Regions from separate parts of the Homo sapiens genome. Here region 1 is linked to region 2. The links are contacts of gene promoters, found by promoter capture Hi-C in human tissues and cell types (Jung and others, 2019). All regions are on one chromosome and are shown on one strand. Each heading gives the region's core, a stretch centred on a gene start or on the middle of the fragment in contact. The rest is flanking DNA. Distances are from core to core; before and after follow the strand shown.

Region 1 (3,381 bases), core at 1-2,500, 240 kb before region 2:
GTCCTCGCCACCCCCCACCAGGCACGTCTGTGGCCCCCTCCAGGCAATGGCATCCTGGATGCACTTTTTCTCCCCACTCCCAATCCGCACGGCCCCACCTATACCCACTCCATTTCCCACCTTCTCCCCTCCCAGGCCATGCACGAGGGGCTGCTGATGCCCGTGGTGAAGTCAGAGGGCGGCGAGGACTACACGGGAGCCACTGTCATCGAGCCCCTCAAAGGGTGAGGCCCCAGGCTGGGTGCAGTTTTTACCTGTAATCTCTGGGAGGCTGAGGTGGGAGGATCACTTGAGCTCAGGAGTTTGAGACCAGCCAGGGCAACATAGCGAGGCCCCTGCTCCACAAAATTTTTTTATTTTTATTTATTTTTATTTTTATTTTTTTGAGACAGAGTCTCGCTCTGTCACCCAGGCTGGAGTGCAGTGGCGCAATCTCAGCTCACTGCAAGCTTTGCCTCCCGGGTTCACGCCATTCTCCTACCTCAGTCTCCACAGCAGCTGGGACTACAGGCGCCCACCACCACGCCTGGCTAATTTTTTTTTTTTTTTTTTTTTTTGCATTTTTAGTAGGGACGGGGTTTCACCGTGTTAGCCAGGATGGTCTCGATCTGACCTCGTGATCCACCTGCCTCGGCCTCCCAAAGTGCTGGGATTATAGGCGTGAGCCACCGTGCCCGGCCGAAAAAATTTTTAAAAATTAGCCAGGCGTGGTGGTGCATGCCTGTAATCCCAGCTACTTGGGAGGCTGAGCTGGGAGGATGATGAGCCCAGGAGGTGGAGGCTGCAGTGAGCGATGATTGCGCCACTGCCCTCCAGCCTGGGCGACAGAGCAACACCCCGGCCCTAAAATAAATTAATAGGCCAGGCACGGTGGCTCACCCCTGTAATCAATCCCAGCACTTTGGGAGGTCAAGGCAGGCGGATCACAAGTTCAGGAGATTGGGACCATCCTGGCTAACACGGTGAAACCCCGTCTCTACTAAAAATACAGAAATTAGCTGGGCATGGTGGCGGGCGCCTGCAGTGCCAGCTACTCGGGAGGCTGAGGCAGAAGAATCGCTTGAACCCGGGAGGTGGAGGTTGCAGTGAGCTGAGATTGCGCCACTGCACTCCAGCCTGGGTGACAAAGCGAGACTCCGTCTCAAAAAAAATAAAATAAAATAAAATAGTAGATTAATTATATATATTATTTTTCTTTTTCTTTTTCTTTTTTTGACACAGGGTCTCACTCTGTCACCCAGGGTGGAGTGCGGTGGCATGATCTTGGCTTACTCCACCTCCTAGGCTCAAGCAATCCTCCTGCCTCAGGCCCCTGAGTAGCTGGGACCACAGGCGTGCACCACCACACCTGGCTAATTTTTAAAATTTTTTTGTAGAGATAGGGTTTTGCCATGTTGCCCAGGCTGATCTGAAACTCCTGAGTTCAAGCGATCCTCCTGCCTCAGCCTCCCAATGTGCTGGGATTGCAGGAGCGAGCACTGCTCCCAGCCAATGAATGATTTTTTTTTTTTAAAGGGTGAGGCCACAAGACAGGGCGGGGGCGGCATGGGAACTCCTAGCCCTGACTCCCGGCCGCGGCTGCTCCCCTCCCAGGTACTACGACGTCCCCATCGCCACCCTGGACTTCTCCTCGCTGTACCCGTCCATCATGATGGCCCACAACCTGTGTTACACCACGCTCCTTCGGCCCGGGACTGCACAGAAACTGGGGTATAGTGCCCAATTCAGCATGTGTCCCCCGAGGCCCATCTGGGCCTTCCCTTGGGGGGCTCAGTCTGGTGGGGGGCATAGGCACAGGCCCAGAGATAGTAGGGAGTGGAGGGGTGCTTGAGGGGCCTGCGTGTGCTCATGGCCAAGGCCAGGACCGTAGGGCAGAGGTGGGCTGGAGCAGGAGGGTGGCCGGCAGTCACCCCAACATCTTCCAACCCAGCCTGACTGAGGATCAGTTCATCAGGACCCCCACCGGGGACGAGTTTGTGAAGACCTCAGTGCGGAAGGGGCTGCTGCCCCAGATCCTGGAGAACCTGCTCAGTGCCCGGAAGAGGTGAGCCCTGGAGATCGCCTGCTTGGAGCTCAGACCTGTTGGGGCCTCTGGGCAATCCCTGTCCCTCACTGGGACACCCCAGGGCTGCCCAGCCACCCTGCCCTCAGCTGTGCGTGAATTAGCACAAGGCATCCCCTCCTGGCAGCTTCCTTTTGCCCCCTTGGCCAGAAGCTTCTGTGCAGTGCACAGTACGCCCAACCGTACATGGCACTCACTTCCAGAAAGGAGCCCTGACCAATGCCCAGGTGCCGCCTGAGTGTGCTTTCCCCGTGTTCCCTCGCAGGGCCAAGGCCGAGCTGGCCAAGGAGACAGACCCCCTCCGGCGCCAGGTCCTGGATGGACGGCAGCTGGCGCTGAAGGTGAGCGCCAACTCCGTATACGGCTTCACTGGCGCCCAGGTGGGCAAGTTGCCGTGCCTGGAGATCTCACAGGTGGGCACTCGGGCCCCTGGAAGGCAACTGGGGGCAGGTGGGCCCCCTGTGTAGGAGACCAGGGCTCCATGTGGGGGACCTGTATCCAGAGGACTGGGCACCCCAACTCACTGGCCTTCTAGAGAGAGGATGCCAATGTGGCTTGAGCAATTGGTCCATTCCTTCACTCAGCAAATGCCTACTGAGCACACACTGTGGTCAGGGCTCACTCTGTGCCCTGGGGATACAGAGGGGAACAAAATGGATGAGAGCTCCTGTCCCTGTCATCTTGCAGCCCAGTGGGGACACTGACAGGTCTGTGTAAACGTGTTTAGGACACAAGTGGCGCTACGAGCTTTGCAGCCGGATAAAGCAGGAGGTGCGGACTGTCGGGGAGTGATGGGGCTGGGCGGGACTCACCCCTCTCAATAGGCGACGCTCACACAGAGGCCAAGGGACGTGGGGAGGGAAGCCATTCACCGTCCCCACGGCAGCGTCCCGGTCTGCCTACCCACGGCAGCTCTGCTGCTTGAACAGAAAAACAGATTCTTTGAAACCACAGAGGGCCTGAGTTTCCGAGATTGCCAAGCTGGGGTCAGTGCCCCAGCTCCTGGCATATGAGGGCCTCGGAAGGGTCTTCCTGTCCAGCCTTCTCCCCTGGGACTTGAGTCTTGGCCCATTCCAGGCCAGTAGTTGTGCTGCTCTGCTTGGTTACCTCTAGCCACGGGGAGCTCCCTCTCTGGCTGGGCACTGCGCCACTTTTCACAGGGCTCTGGGTGGAAGGCTTGGATGAATTCTCAGTGGGTGGGGCCTTTGCACACACCCACCCACCCGCAGTTCTGGGGGTCCCAAAGACCACTTAGGTTCAGTGATTCACTAGAAGTACTCAGAGAGCAGAAAAGCTGGTTCTCATGGTTATGATTTAAT
Region 2 (3,325 bases), core at 375-2,874:
GCCTGTGGTCAAGGCAATCATGTCCTCCATCCCGCTGAGATAAAATTGCCAGCTGGAAATGGAAGACAGCTTGATGGGAGAGAAGCAGATGTGAAGATGCCAGGAGGGGGTCAGGGCCCCCAGAACTGAGTAAGACTATTTCAATCTGGACTGTTTTAATTGCTAATAACGGAAACGCAAATCAAATTGACCTAAGCATAAAAGGAAGTTTATTGATTGGATGAGGGCTTCAGGCATTGCTGGATCCAGGTGTTCCAATCATCTCCAGGAATCCAACTGTCTGTATCTTTGGGCTATGCTTCCCTCGTGTTGTCTTTGCTCTCAGGCAAGTTATCTCCCTGCATGGTGATGTGGTAGCACCGAGAGCTCCAACCCTGGCTCTGACCAGCCCCAAAACCACAGGGGAAAAACCCTGTTTTCTAACAGGTCCAGCAAAAGTCCAAAGGTTGACTTTGTAGCCTAGATTGATTCTTAAGCTCGCCACTGAACAAATCACTGAGGAAATCAAGGTGCCACCACCTAGAACGAATACTTAGTAAGCAGGAACAACAGACAGTCCAGAGACCATCTGGATGTGGAGAAAGAGGAAGAGAAAGAGATACAAGTAACAGAGACAAAGACTGCAAGGACAGACAAAACAAATAAGCGAAGGTCCAGCTTCCTCTCCCACAATTCCTGCAGAGAGCTCTGCAGACCCAGAGAAAGGGATGCTGAACAGGCACCTACACGGCTAGACCCCTTCTCTCTAGCACGAGAGGCCCCGTGAGACCCCAGACCCAGAAGTCCAGGCCCCCATCCTCTCCTCCCTCAGACCCAGGAGTCCAGACCCCAGGCCCTCCTCCCTCAGACCCAGGAATCCAGGCCCCCACCCCTCCCCCTCCCTCTGGAGGCACCATGGCAACCAGGCCCCCTGCCCACCATCCCCTCCCCACTAGAGAACCCACTTTCGTTGGAATCTCGCCTGTTTCTAACCAGTTCCTGGCTGGGGCAGGGATGAGCAGAGGGCAAGTGGGAACAGAAAGGGGATGACAGAGGGGAGGGGGCCTCAAGGGGGCAGTGGAGGCAGCTAGGAGAGGATAGAGATGGGGCAAGGAGACTGGTGAGAGGTGGGAAGACAGAGAGAGGGTGACGGGGTTAGGGAGAGGCAGAAAACGATGAAGACAAGGAGGGACGGGGGCCTGGGGAGATGCTGGGGAAACTGATGGAGACTGAAGAGATGGAGCCCAGGAGAGAAGGAGGGAGGAGGAGGGCAGAGAAATCAAGCAAAAGAGTGGTGGAGACGTGGGGACAGAGGGGAGGAGGCAGGGGGGCAGAGAGATGGGGAGAGAATGAGGAAGGGAGGTGGAGAGAGAGGGGTGGGGAAAGGGACTCTAGGAGACAGAGAGAGATAGGAGGAAAAACAGGGAAATGGGAAAGAAGGGATTGGGGCACACAGGGAGTCCCTGAGGTCAGGGGAACCCAGATCTCCACATGGTCTCAGCCTTCCAGTTCCTCTGTAATTCTACCCCGGGGCTTCAAAGAGGAGGTAGAGGAGGCAGCGGTGGGGAGAAGGAGCTGGGGTGGGTGGCCCAGGCAGAGCCTCTCTTGCCACCTTCCTGAGACATCCCTCACCCACCTTCCCAGGATGCAGCCAGAGGTGGAGCCCGTGTGCTTCCCTGCCATGGGCAGCCCCACCATGCACAGGAAGGCAGGTACTGAGCTGTGTCTTTGGGGGAAGGGGTGGACTTCCTCCATCCAGGCAGTGCGTAGTAGCCCGGGCTCACAGTGTGGCCTTAAGCGAGTCACTGGCACTCCAAAGTGAAAGCCATCCCTAGCATTCCTGGATTCACCAGATTCCTGGAGAGCGGCCCCCTTGGACCTCAAACTACATTTCCCATGAGCCTCTGCAGTTCCTTGGCCAATGCCCTGGACTCAGAACTACATTTCCCATGAGCCTCTGGGGCCTAAGCAACACCTCTGAGGCCATTCTTCTCCTAGGTAACCTCACTGTCTTGTCTCCCACCCTGAGCTCAGCATCTTCCCCCAAAGCTGCTCTCCTCCTTCCTGGTTTCCATTTTCAAATGGCCCCACCGCCAACCCAGTCACTGGTGCCATCCTTCCACCTCCCACAATTCCCTCCCACAGCCCATCAGGCCCTATCTTCCTGCCCTCTGACTCTCCCTTCCCCATTCCTTCCTCTCTGTCCCCGCAGCCCTGTCCCAGGTCTCATCCTCTTCCATGTGGACCCTCTCCTCACCTCCTCCCTGGTCCCCAGTTTCTCTCCTCCTACCTATCCCTCCATGGCTCCAGAGAGGTCTCTCTGACTTCCTGCAGTGATCCTGGCTGTCCCTTGCTCATAACACTTCCTAGCTTCCTGTCACCTCTAGGACAGAGACCCAAAGCTCCAGCCTGGCTTTTGAGGCCCTGTGTGGTCTGACCCCTGCTGACAACTTCAGGCTCCTAGCCCAGCACTTCCTGCTAGCACTCTGTGCTGTAGCACAGCTCATGCAGTTACACTCATTCAACATTTATGGAGTAGTATCTCAGTGAGGATGCATGTAACTGCAGGTAATAGAAAACCAAACTCAGGACTGGGTGTGGTGGCTCACGCCTATAATCCCAGCACTTTGGAGGCCGAGGTGAGTGGATCACCTGAGGTCAGGAGTTCAAGGCCAGCCAGCCTGGCCAACATGGTGAAACCCCATCTCTAAAAATACAAAAATTAGCCAGGTGTGGTGCCGGGTGCCTGTAATCCCAGTTACTAGGGAGGCTGAGGCAGGAGAATCGCTTGAACCCAGGAGGCAGAGGCTGCAGCGAGCCAAGATTGTGCCACTGCACTCCAGCCTGGGTGATGGAGGGAGACTCTGTCTCAAAAAACAAAACAAACAAACAAACAAACAAAAACACCCAAAACCAAAACTCACTGCAGCCTTGAGCTCCTGGCTCAAGTGATCCTCCCACCTCAGCCTTCGAGGCCGAACAAATGCCCTGATGGCAAAACAGGCGTTGTTTCTCTGCCTTTAGGTCTCTTTTAGTGCTTTTGAAGGCATCTTTCTTTTGGAGACCCCACAATGCACCATCTCTAGCCTAGACTGAGGCACCCACGTGACATGTAATTTATATGTAGCTCCAGAAAAGTCAAGTGGAGTTGAGTCGACCAGTTGGCTAGTTTTGTTGATCGACGTTTGTTCATTTCGATTTTGCTGTTTTCTTTGCAGCGTTGTGGAACCAATCACATTTTTTAGTTGATCAGGTTGCAAACTTCAGCATAGGCCATTAGAAAGCCCCTGGGTCCCAAGCATTTTGCCTGTAGTGCCTAATGGATGAAACGGCCTGGCTTGTTCTC

What was found. Contacts are between HindIII fragments. The study calls those that stand out against the background at their distance.
Region 1: a contact is called between a fragment that was not itself captured here and the fragment with the promoter of C19orf81 in region 2, in 2 of the 25 tissues and cell types used here (bladder and pancreas).

The regions. Positions count from the first base shown.
Region 1 is chr19:50,407,192-50,410,572 of GRCh38, forward strand. POLD1 (DNA polymerase delta 1, catalytic subunit) reads left to right here. Exons shown (of 27, transcript NM_002691.4): 14 at 136-224; 15 at 1,594-1,710; 16 at 1,931-2,044; 17 at 2,328-2,475. Among named protein-coding and RNA genes, the nearest start is that of SPIB, 10 kb to the right of the region's middle. The HindIII fragment of the contact is 5,390 bases long and covers 1-3,381 here.
Region 2 is chr19:50,647,821-50,651,145 of GRCh38, forward strand. C19orf81 (chromosome 19 open reading frame 81) reads left to right here and starts at 1,625. Exons shown (of 5, transcript NM_001195076.2): 1 at 1,625-1,691. The coding sequence starts at 1,625. It also overlaps a transcript of SYT3 not described here. RefSeq lists an enhancer at 509-558. The HindIII fragment of the contact is 25,500 bases long and covers 1-3,325 here.